2 separate regions of the Homo sapiens genome follow, and region 1 is linked to region 2. Evidence: promoter capture Hi-C in 16 types of primary human blood cells and fetal thymus (Javierre and others, 2016). All regions are on one chromosome and are shown on one strand. Each heading gives the region's core, a stretch centred on a gene start or on the middle of the fragment in contact. The rest is flanking DNA. Distances are from core to core; before and after follow the strand shown.

The links. The method cuts DNA at HindIII sites, captures the fragments that hold promoters and counts their contacts. A CHiCAGO score of 5 or more calls a contact.
Region 1: a contact is called between a fragment that was not itself captured here and the fragment with the promoter of SV2C in region 2, in 1 of 17 cell types (naive CD8 T cells). The highest score is 5.1, in naive CD8 T cells.

The regions. Positions count from the first base shown.
Region 1 is chr5:76,641,247-76,647,098 of GRCh38, reverse strand. All of the region lies in intron 17 of IQGAP2 (IQ motif containing GTPase activating protein 2), which reads right to left. Among named protein-coding and RNA genes, the nearest start is that of F2RL2, 21 kb to the right of the region's middle. The HindIII fragment of the contact is 9,128 bases long and covers 15-5,852 here.
Region 2 is chr5:76,079,973-76,086,480 of GRCh38, reverse strand. SV2C (synaptic vesicle glycoprotein 2C) reads right to left here and starts at 3,098. Exons shown (of 13, transcript NM_014979.4): 1 at 2,969-3,098. It overlaps SV2C-AS1 (SV2C antisense RNA 1), which reads left to right and starts at 3,064. Exons shown (of 2, transcript NR_183290.1): 1 at 3,064-3,562; 2 at 4,085-5,075. RefSeq lists an enhancer at 3,734-4,287. The HindIII fragment of the contact is 14,928 bases long and covers 1-6,508 here.

The sequences.
Region 1 (5,852 bases), core at 3,329-5,828, 560 kb before region 2:
AAGTCCTTAAAGCTTACTATATTATTAAGGCTATGTGAATCTATTCCTTGACAAAATTAAAGATTTAAAAAAAAATCAGAAGTGTCAATGGTAGTTATGACTCAAGAGGATCAACTAAAAATTTATTAGAACTAAGAGTTCATCCTGGTGACTAGTTATAAAATGAATATAAAATTGATAAGTTTTCTACATGTCAAGAATAAACAACACAATAGAATAAAGATGTTATTCACAATAGCAGAAAAATATACATGAGTAAACTTAAATATAAAGGAATAAAATTATAATGGTACAGTTTGGAACAGATTAATAAATGGAAAAAGATTAATGCCTGAACTGTAAAGTTTATTATTATAAAGATGCCAATTGCCCTCAAAAAAAAACCTTAAACTTCAATGCAATCATTTAAAAACACAGGAATGAGTCTAGAATTCTATCAAATGCTTTTGCAGTAACTATTGAAAAGAGCACATGGGTTTTTCTCCCTTAAGCTCTTATGGTGATAAAGAATTATACAGGAAGATGAATTATTATCTGGAGTTTTGAAACTGGAGTGATCTTAACGGTGCTTCTCAAACTTTAATGTGAATATAAAATCATCCGAGGATCTTGTCAGAATGCAGGTTAGGATTCAGTAGGCCTCGGGGAAGGCTTGAGATTTTGTACTTTTACCAATCTTCCAGGCAAAGAGAGCATTGGGTATGTGTTCACACATTAAATGATAAAAATGTAAATAACCAAAATAAAAAATTTTAAATTAATTATCCGTTTAGAAAATGCTACCCCATGGGATTTGTCACAGTGTGACAATTCTGAGATGGGCAAAATTCTCTGATGTCACCAACAGTTGTTCATAAAAGTGGCCCAACAGCACAACAGAAACTAGGGGAAGTGGACCCTAATCGTGGGTCACTGGGATTCCATGGCAGTCCAACCAGTAAAACATGTGTTGTGATGGATCTTAACAGTTCCTATATTTTGGTGGTTAACACTGGTTTAAAGCAGAGAAGTGCAATTGTTTGAATGTATATTATAAATTCCACTCCTTCCTTAGTCCATACTGAAAGGCTAAACAAGATAATTGGAATTAGCTCAAGTTCCTATTCTGCTCTTCTGGAATTACCTAAACTCCAAAAACACTTAATTTCAATTATCTGAGATTCGCAAACATTCTGAATAAGTGACCTGTCATAGTAACAGATTATTTAATATTGAATCATTCCTGCATTGGCAAAATTACCCCATTCGTCCATTCTGTTTTTTTTTTTTTAATATACTAAGGATTAACTATTTACCTTGAGAGCTCATTATTATGTTTCATCTCATAACTATTTATGTAAAATTTTCTGGTATTCTTCTATATTTATGAGTTTTTTTACGTTTCCAAACAAAGGCAGCTTGGCTGGGAATATAATTTTTTTGCTCCTGGATATGAAGAGACACTTCTCAAAAGAAGACATTTATGCAGTCAACAAACATGAAAAAAAGCTCATCATCACTGGTCATCAGAGAAATACAAATCAAAATCACAATGAGATACCATCTCACGCCAGTTGGAATGGCAATCATTAAAACGTCAGGAAACAATAGATGCTGGAGAGGATGTGGAGAAATAGGAATGCTTTTTACACTACTGGTGGGAGTGTAACTTAGTTCAACCATTGTGGAAGACAGTGTGGCAATTCCTCAAGGATCTAGAACCAGAAATACCATTTGACTCAGCAATCCCATTACTGGGTATGTACCCAAAGGATATAAATCATTCTACTATAAAGACACATGCACAAGTATGTTTACTGCAGTGCTGTTCACAATAGCAAAGGATTGGAACCAACTCAAATGCCCATCAATGACAGACTGGATAAAGAAAATGTGGCACACATACACCATGGAATACTATGCAGCCATAAAAAAGGATGAGTTCACATCCTTTGCAGGGACATGGATGAAGCTGGAAACCATCATTCTCAGCAAACTAACACAGGAACAGAAAACCAAACACCGCATGTTCTCACTCATAAGTAGGAGTTGAACAATGAGAACATATGGACACAGGGAGGGGAACATCACACACTGGGGCTTGTCAGGGGGTGGGGAACTAGGGGAGGGATAGCATTAGGAGAAATACCTAATCTAGATGGTGGGTTGATGGGTGCAGCAAACCACCATGGCACGTGTATACCTATGTAACAAACCTGCACATTCTGCACATGTATCCCGAACTTAAAGCATAATAATAAAAGAATTTTTTTGTTCCATAGAAGCAGAATACTACATGCCTCATCTTTCATTTGCCAAAATTCTGTTTTTCTTTTTTTAGTCTGTAAGTTTTAGTTCCTTTGAGATGAGCTTTTCCTATTATGTCCTAACAACAGAACTCTTGTGCATAGCCATGACATTGTAATCTCTTCTCTAATTAGAGGCTGTTTATTATAAGCAAATATGGGTATACAGTTGATATAAAGAAACTTTGAAAATTACAGACAGATGGGATTTACAGGCCAGGTGTGGTGGCTTATGCCTATAATCCCAGCACTTTGGAAAGCCGAGGCAGGCAGATCACTCGAGGCCAAGAGTTCAAGACCAGCCTGGCCAACATGGTGAAATTCTGTCTCTATAAAAAATACCAAAATGAGCTGGGTGTGGTGGCGCATGCCAGTAATCCCAGCTACTTGGGAAGCTGAGGCATGAGAATCACTTGAACCCAGGAGGTGGAGGTTGCAGTGAGCTGGGATGGTGCCACTGCACTCCAGCCTGGGCGACAGAGCAAGACTCTGTCTCAAAAAAAAAAAAAAAAAAAAAAGGATTTACAAAAATGGCAGTCTCATTCTCCTGCCTGGTATGGGAACTTGTGGGAAAATTTATAATAGCCATCTTATTTGTTTTGTTTTCTAGTACCATAAATATATTTTCTGTGCAGAGTATCTGTATAAAAGAAGTCTGTCAAAACGCTTAGACCTCAGAGGTCATTGCTCTATTTTATAGACTTTAACTATTACTCTCTGGGAAATCTGGCTTGATACACTGGCTGCTATGCTTGATAACTGGACACTCAGTATAGAGATATTCAAATTACCAATGCCAACTTCTGATGCACAGAATACTTGTGTGATCTCGGTTAGCCAAGAAAGCCCTAAACATTTACCTCTTCTCCCTCTCCTCAAAGGTAAAAAAAATCCAGCCATCTATAAGAGCAGTCGGTTACATTAAAACAACTGAGGACCGACTCTCCCAGGCCATCCCCTTCCTCTTGGCCCACAGACTCTGCCACTGCTCCTGGCGAAGTGAAGTTCCTTCAGAGTAGCTTGTTTTTCTTCACCAGGATGCTTGTGGCACTCCCTGAGCTGAAGTTCAATAATTCATTAATTCTCAGGGCTAAGTTTTGGTGTTTGCCACTATTATGTCCTTTCCTAAAAAGTAGTATACTAGCTTTCTTCAGTTCATGAAAAAAACTTCCTCCTGTAGTTACCTACTCTAATCCTATTTCATTTTTTTCTGATGTTTTCCTGTGCCACACCAACAATATCAATATTGGATCCCCATTATCTGCCTTCTGAGTCATTATCTCTATCATCTTACCATTTCTAAAGTTTATCAAGCACTTGAGAAGCAAATACTAGGAAACATCTGTTATGTGAATTATTCCAGTCAGTCTTCACCACCCTGCAATAAAATGGGCATTATATTTTTCAGATGAGAAAGTGTGTTTTTAGTCATCTATTCTTTCTCTCATCTTTTGTGGATTTTTCTGAAGTTTTTTGTGTCTGCTCCAATTATGTTCAGTGTCTAATTTGCATTCTGCAGTTATAAATTCATTTACATTCTATAACATCATTATTTCTCTTCCTCTCCTTAGCTGTCAGCTGTCTTTTCATTTTATTATTCTATTGTCTTCTTATTTCATTAAGTCCATGTCTTATCAAATTCCTTGACAGTATAAAGCAGCTTCAGTATAAAATTTTCTCCTGTCTTCTGGAAGAGTAACTCTAGATATCTACTCCACTTATATTTTACAAGTTACATTCCTTTTTCTATTTCTGATATAAAATCTTTTTTGTTTATGAACAGATTTTTTTTTCTGGCTCACTCAGGCAATTTTATCGGGGACTTCTAACTGCTCAAAAATAATATGGCTATGTAGATTCTCCTTGACTTCCTCTATATTGACCTGGGCACCTCCCAGTTAACTCCATAAGCACTTGAGACAGAATGCTGGATGTTGATCATGCTGCACATTCTCTGTACCACTACTCATTTCCTTGGCAGACCACTGATGGCAGGGAGGGTGGTGTAGCCGGAGTATAGCTGGCCTCGGCCTAGGAGTTTTGCCTTTGTATTTCTCTCCAAATGTGTTAAGACTACTGTGTCTGGGGGGCAGTTCAGCCAGCTAGGAAGCTCACAGTGTTTTACGTAGGGGACCTTCTCAGATATCAGAACATTTTCCTACTTGAAGGTGAACCAGCCACTTTGGTGAGAAATGAGATTAGCATGACACCTTTTGGTTCACAGTCTCTTGGTTTTATGGGTCAGCAGGTTCCTATTAACTGTATTATTCACTTCTGGTCCACATCTGTAAAGTAGGCTTACCTTTAGGCCTCATGCCCTCTGTTTTGGAAAATTGTCAGAAGACTGAAAAAAAGGCGTGGTGAGGTGACTTCATGGTTTGATGGCTGCTTCGTCAATTCTTTTGCCTCTGCTGAGGTGGAGGAAAAAGGCTCCAAATGATCGTTCCTGTCCTTACCCCATTTCTCTCATCCTTCAGCCCTGGTTTCTAATATAGAGGGATTCTGTACTGGTGGGCTCTGTGGTATATCTTCCAACTGCAACACTGCTGTGTGACCTGAGACTGGAGAGTGTGGGGTCCCAATTTTATATTGGCTGACACGTGAAATTTGTGCAAAATTAGAGTCTCATCAGTGTAGATGACTATTTTTAGGCTTTTGTTCACTTCCTGTGTGTTTTGCCTACTATTTGTTTAAAGGAATACATTGTAAACTCATTGGCCCACCTAGAAAAATCCTTTGAGTGTCAGATTTATAGTAGAAATTTCTTTTATAAAATTAATTATTTCTGCTTTGCTAATAATATCTTAAGCTCCAAGCAAATTTAAATATGTAAGCACCTATCATGTGCAAGATACAAGAAGACAAATGTTTGTAAAATTCATTTTCTGCCTTGGACATTACAGTTAGGTGGGAAAAGCAGATGAGTTCACCAGTGACCACACAAAAAAGAAGGTCTTCAACAGAAAAATGTTCAATTTAGGAAACTTCAAAGTAAAAACCCATCAGCATCAGACTTTACCAGTTGTTAATAATACCCCTTTGAACTCACAATAAAAAGAACAAACTCACAGCCTTTCACAAACCAGTGTGGTGACTGGTAGGGGGCGCTATAGGAATACAGAAGAGAAACATCTAAACCTGGCAAATTCTCCTGCCAATCAGAAAGTTTAGACAAGTCATGCAAACTTAAGAACAATTTATAGCAAAAAAATTGGGAATGAAGGTTTCTCCTGAAGGCCTAAATGAAGAGTGACAGATTACAGAAGGTAGAAGACATTCTTAGAGAGGCTAAATCTGTTTATTTCATTAGTTCTCCTGTTCTTTCAGGCTAGAACAGCACAGAAACTAAGACGCCACTCAACATCTACTAACCACAAAAAAGCCAAATTGTAAAGTCCCCAAGTCAGGTATGATTTCAACTCTGATCCAAGGTATATCCCTTTGGGTCCAACTAGGTTGGCAGCAGGTGGATCTGTGCAAATCTGCGGTGCTCCTAAATGCTCTCTAGAAGACCATAGGTTAAGTCATTCATCATCAAAATGCTTCCTATTTTAAAGCCTTAGTGAA
Region 2 (6,508 bases), core at 1,849-4,348:
ATATAGCTGCACAGAAAAAGAGGCATTTTGCTTTCACTACTCACAGAAATCTACCGTCATCTGGAGTAATATGAATAACAACAGTGGGCTGGTTAAGGAGCCATTTTGACAAATCACATGCTTTTATTCATACAATATGTCATCAAGTTTGCTTAAGAATAAGAGATAACACTCCTAATTATAGGAAATGGGTTTTCTGGTACTTGTCGTCACGTGATATATTGCACATTATGATGCCTTTGCCGTAATCTCCTGGAGACTGGGAACTGGATCCTATTATTTGAAGCATTTCCACACTTAAGGAATATGATAGGGTTAATAATGAATAGGAGTTTTACTACAAGCTGTTAGGCCAGTCTGCTGCTCAGATCAGAGAAGCTACTTTCACTGTCATTGGGTCATGAAAAATAAAGCTGATTTCTCCACTACATGAACAAAACACTCAGATGTGATCCAGAGCTTCTTTTTTTCCTTCTCCAGACAGTCAGTAGCTAATGGCATTGGATTACATATTAGACTGTTAGGAAAAGTCTGCTGTCTGCATTTGCTCACATTGAGGGCCAAATTTCATTAAAAAAACAATGCTGGGAAAAGTCTCTAGAATTTTTTAAAAGAAAATTCTGTGTGTGTGTGTGTGTGTGTGTGTGTGTGTGTAGGGGCTTTGTTTGCTAATATTTTCCATTCATGGAAAATTTGTATTTCCAAAGCCAAAGCTCTCTGAGATTATCTCTTTTGTCTTCAAAACAACCCTGTAAGGTACATAAGAGCTAGTATAAGCTATTTTTCACAATTCTCAGAGGTGGAAGATGAACCCAAGAGGGTGAGTAACCTGCCCAAGGTGACATAACACAATATTTGGGGAAATGGTGACTAGCATCTGTGTCTCTGGGTTCCTTGATAATTGCTTTTCTTCCTCCCTCCCTTCCTTTCTTTCTTTTTTCCCAACCCCGTCCCCTTTCATTCATTTTGCCTACATACTGCAGATTTGGGCTCCTTCAGTAAAGCCAGTAGAAAAACTTTGTCACTGGGTTTCCAGAAAGTGGTCTTTAAAAAAAAGAATAAAATGGATCGTGGATTTGATTTATTATTTTCCACCAGAGAATGCGTTATCAGTAGTGTTTTTTAACGCGTATTTTTATGCCATGAAAGAGGAATGCGGCATATTGTTTTGTAAGACATTCTTAAACCTCACTTAGAGGCCAGGCCTCCTGCCAAAAATCCTGCAGAATGGTGGCGCAACGGGTTGGCACTACAGAACCTCACGAACCTCAACACCTAGGCGTTCACATGAAAACTTCCCACGAGCACGAGGCCTTTCGGAACTTGCCATGGAAAATGAGTGAACGCCTGAGAGATTAATGCCACATTCTTCAGAATTAAGGATAAGAATTAAACGGAAGCTACCGCGCTAGCAGTCAGCTAAGTATGAAGGGATTAGGTTCAGCGGGAGAGGAGACCATCACGGCATCCCGGTCTCATCTCCTTAAGGCTCTCATGAGCCTTAAAAGACGCCTCATCTCCTCGGTCCCCCGGGGAGCGCCCGGTAGCTGCGGCTCCTTCCCGGCACTGCGGCGCACTGCGGAGCCGCCTGCCCGCCAGCCCAGGCCGTGCGGGGCTTTCCTCGCCGCCCCGCGCCGCCGCAGTCCTCCCGCCCCCCTCTGCCCCGCCGGGTCGCCGCTCTCCGCGCCAGGCGCGCCGCGGGGCATCCATCAACCCAGAGCTTTTGACGCACACACGCGCGCTCCCAGACGGAGACTCCGTCGCCTGCCCCCGCCCGCCACCCCCGCCCGCCCCTCGCGGGTCTGCATTTGCATCACTCGCACACGTAGAAGGTGACGCGAGCGCCCCCAGCTCAGGCCGTCCAGGCGGCACCTCTAGCCCCCGTGGCTCAGCCCCTCCCCCCGCCCCCGCGCGCCGCCTAAGGTCCCCGCACGCCCACAGATCTGCTCCCGATTGTTCATCTGCCGTGGGGTGCTGGCTGCCCCAAGCCAAGTTCATCCCCGTATTCCGCAGTCCCCGTGGGCCCAGCCCGGGGCGCTCCCCGCGACGCTCTGGAGAAAAGTCTTCCCAGTTCTAGAACCCAGGCGGAAGGGGAAAAGCCCACTAAGAGAAAGGGTCAGAGGGTCGGCTGATGGCTTTTGCTGCCCTCATCGCCATCTAAGATTACCTCGGTAGCTTATTTACTGCGATTGGTCCCTCTCCCCTCTGAGCTTCACAGCCTCGGGTCTGCTTCGCCTGGCCTGGCGCACAGCAGGCGCCCAAAAGGTTTTTGCTGAATGAAGGCGTTGTAACGTAGGAAGTGCAGGCGCTGACAAAGAGCCTCAGCCCCGCGGGCTCCCCTGCTCTCCAGCCCTCTCTTGCTCTCTCTTAGACGCCAGACAGGCGCTTCGGGAATGTATGTGGGAGAGTTTGAAAATTCATGGTGTTTCTTTCAGGCTCTCTCAGCACTTACTGCGGCTACCTCTGCTCTCCCGCCACCTGCACGTCTGCAGAGGGATCCCCGCCGAAAAGTTGAGCCTAAGGCAGCTATGAAGGTATAGGTCCAGGTACCCAGCCCGGGGCTCTAGGCTGCTAGATTTGAATCTGCCTATCCCTGCCGGTCAAACCACACAAGCAAAAAAGAGCGTGGCGGTCGCTGCAGATGCGGCCCCTGCATCCCCGCTGCTGCCCACCCACCTCCTCTGGGAATCCCAGATAAAGTGCGACCCAGTCCCCAGACCTACCCTAGCGAACCCTGGGGTCACTGCATCTATTTTACCCCTACTTTCCTGGTCCCTCTCCAACAAAGGCGCCTACAAAGCAGCGGGCACCTGCAGCCGCTTCCCCGGGGGCAGGCGGGGCAAAGTTGCGCTTCCGAAAGGCTGCAAAAACTTCCCCAGGCTGCAGCGCCCGGCCACCAGTCGGGAAGAGAAATCCAGCAGCGGGGGAAAGTCTCCCCGCGGATGCCCGCTTCACCTCCCCCACTCACCGCTCCAGCCGTCGGACACCCTTGCCCTGAGTGGTGTCAGCACTGCAGCCGCCTCAGTGCGGGCGCCGCTCCGGCTCGCTTCCCCGGGCTGCCTCCGTCTGCCACTCTCGCCTGCAGCGCGCGGAGTGGTGACTCCTCTGAGCGTGTCAGCGGCGAGAGGAGGGGCGGGAAAGTGGCTCCCGGCTTGCACGCTGCGGTCCTCCTCCTCTCCTCCGCCTGCCTCCTCCCCCTGGTGCTGCAGTGCCGGGCGGCGGCGTGGCGAGAGTACCAGCGGTGCGCAGGGAGTCACGGCGCGCGGGGGAGGCGGGACCCGCGCGCCACTCGCGGTGCTCCGGCAAGTCGCGGTGCTGAGGCGCTGCTGCGGTGTGGGACTGGGGCAGGGGGCGGGGAAGGAGAGCCACCTCCAAGTGGTAGGTACTTCTGGAGAAGTCAGGGCTCTGAGTTTGTAGCAGGTGAAGGAGAGGGGCGGCAGTCCTTAATTAGTCACCAACTGTGACTGTGCGTTGCGCACTTGGCGGCGCCCCGGGTCAGGTCCAGCGTGAGACGCGAGGGAGTTCTGACTGCTGGACTCTGTTAGCACCGGACAAAAAGAGGGTTTGTATTCTATTTCCGGGCCTGGGACTGACTTGTTCACTTCGACTTGGCTTCCAGGGAGCAACCAGGCAGAGCTAGGTTGCCTACTTCCCCCAGCCCCCACCCCGACGCTGGAAGACAAGTCCAGAGGAAACTTGGGCACAGCAAGAGCAAACAGAAGAAAACTTCGCTGGGTTAAGTCTACTGTCTCCCCAATGCTACATAGGGCCAGACAGCTGGGCTCACAGGCAGATATTGAAAGTGGCCCCTTAGAGGGGAAACAACCAAATATGAGGGGGGGGGGGTGGAGAGAGAGATAGAGAGAGAGAGAGGAGGAGGAGGAAGAAAGAAAGAAAGAAAGAAAAAGAGAAAGAAAGAAAGGAGGAGGAGGGAGAAAGAGAGAGGAGAGAAGAGAGAGAGAGAGGGAGAGAGAGAGAGAATTTTGCTTGTGTTGTTAGAAACAAACATTTCTCCCCTTGGCGTGCAGGAGAGAGAATTTTGCTTGTGTTGTCAGAAACAAACATTTCTCCCCTTGGCGTGCAGGAGACCCCAACTCGAGCTTCACTGTTCCAAAGCGGTGGGCCAGGCGGCTGGAGAGAAACTCGCTCCCGTGAGGCCACACCCAGGCCTGGCGCACCCACCCCGCGGCAGCAGTGGAGGGCGTCGCCCTCCCGGGCCTTCCGACGCAGACCCTGCCATCCGGATGCTGCGGGAAGTAGGGCATCCTCACGTCCCTGACTCCTCCGGCTCCGCGCGCTCACGGAACCCAAGTGGAGTGGGAAGCGGTCACACAGGCGTGTGCCGTCCCCGAAATCGTTGCTCCTGTGGTGGTGACCCAAAGCGAGACAAAGCGCCGCGCCAATACGGGCTGCAGTGATTGGAACTCAAACACACACATCTCTCCGCGAATGTGTTCCATCCGTGTAAATATGCCTGGGTGATTGAATGGATGGCTGAATGAACGCTGTGTGGATAGAAATATAAATGTTACATGTATAATACAGGCGCCGGGGAAGGAGAGCTGTCAGGCACCCCCAGGCTGGAGCCTCCTGCCCAGAGGAGCCGGTGGAGACAGGCGGTTCGCCCAGGGCGGTGTTGTTAGCTTGGGCTTTCCAGTTCGATTTGTGCCACTATGCAGGATACTGTGAAGAGAAGAAAATGGAGACAACTCTTGGCCTCTCATTTTCCCTCCTCTCTGGTTCAGACACTCTGGCACTAAAAGTTATGATTCTCATGTGCTGTTGAACCTACACTTCCTTGCTGGTCTGTCTTGTTCCGGTGAGAGGCTTTGCAGTCTGTGACCATGGTGCTATGAGATGGTCAGGCAATATGAAAATTAGTGAACGTGCTCATTTTCATTTCGTGGATTCTTCTTAGTAAAATAATTATTTAAATAGTTAAATAATTTAAATAGTTAAATAATTTAAATAATTATTTAGGCTAAAATTAATGTGCTGCTACTATGACAAGGAAGTGCCTATGAATCCAGCATTGGAAATACAATTGTGAAATTAAAAAATAAATCCTATCTGGATTCCCCGCATGTTATTTATAAAAATTTGAGCTTCCAACTGCAAAATGTGCTGGCAATTCACTGAGTTCTCAAACGGTTACCTTTTTGAGAACCTCCCCTAAACTGTTGCAGAATAATGGATTGTTTCTCCAAGTGATGGAAGTTCAGAAAACCATGAAACAAACTTTAAACGTGATCAACGTTCTTTATGCTATGCTGTATCTTCCTTAAATTATTCTCCTATCTTGTCCGTGGAAGATATTTTTTTAAAGTGGGTTGATTTTTCTACTTCTGGATTTTCGTGTCTTGATGCATTTGAAGGTAACAGCTCCTTTAGGAAAATCCCTGATTGTGATTTTGCCTGAAACATCCCATTTAAGACCAGGTTGCACTGGAAAAGGCTATTTTAACGTTGTGTCTTTGGAGGACATGAAACATTGTGTCATGATGATGTTGTGCCCTGGTTCCTGGACTTGCCCTCTAAAGCAGTTCTGGTTCTAGGGTCCTGCCTGGCACACACCTTGGCCCCAGGCCCCTTGGATCCAGCACTCAGACTAGTTTTATTCATGCCTTCATTATAATGAAATGTTTTCTCTCTTCTGAAAACACTTGTCTTGTAGAAGCGGATGGAGTGAAAAGGGGTATACCCTCCATCCCCACAGAATCCCAGTACTCTAAAGTCATTGCTCTCCTACACCTCAGGACTTTTGTTCCTCAATGCAGGGTGTCGTCTTGTGATGCTAAAAAACAAGCTGTGAAAGACACCTAATGAGCATGAGAGGTCTGTTTTCGCATCAGCAAAGTGGTTTTCATAAAAATAATTCACACTAAGTACAGATGCTATAGTGGTTATATTTTATAATATACACAAGAAGCACAGTGCCTAGTACACAATGGGTATAGAATAAATGTCAGTTGCTCTTCCTCTTTTAGTAGTCAGGGCAAGGTTTTCCAAAGCCTGCGCTTTGGAGAACTGGTTTTGTAAGATGCTCTGGAAAGTCAGAGTTACACCTGGCTTCCACAGCAGATGTCTGAAGACAGCCCCATACTCTTGGACCAAGTCCACACAGCTCTCCACTTCTCCTCACTATCATCAGGAGTCTATAGCAAAGTGCAGACACCTACTCTTCTTACCCCAACACTCAGCTTCCACAACACTCAAAACTATTTTTTGTCTCTTTTGTAATTTTAATCGAAGTATTACTATTCATTTTTTTTAAACTCTGTCTTATAAGCACCACATTTTAATATCTAAGTCAATATTGGGTGAAAGAAACACCACCAAGAACTTCCCTCCAGAACAAAACAATGATGTTCATTCCTCCAAACATCCAAATTGAAAGTCTATCACAACCAAAACAAAAAAACAAAGCCCACGGAGAAATAAAAAGTAACAAAAATCACATTCTAGGGTGTTAGTGCATTTGGCAGTCTTTGCTGTGCTGTTGAACCAT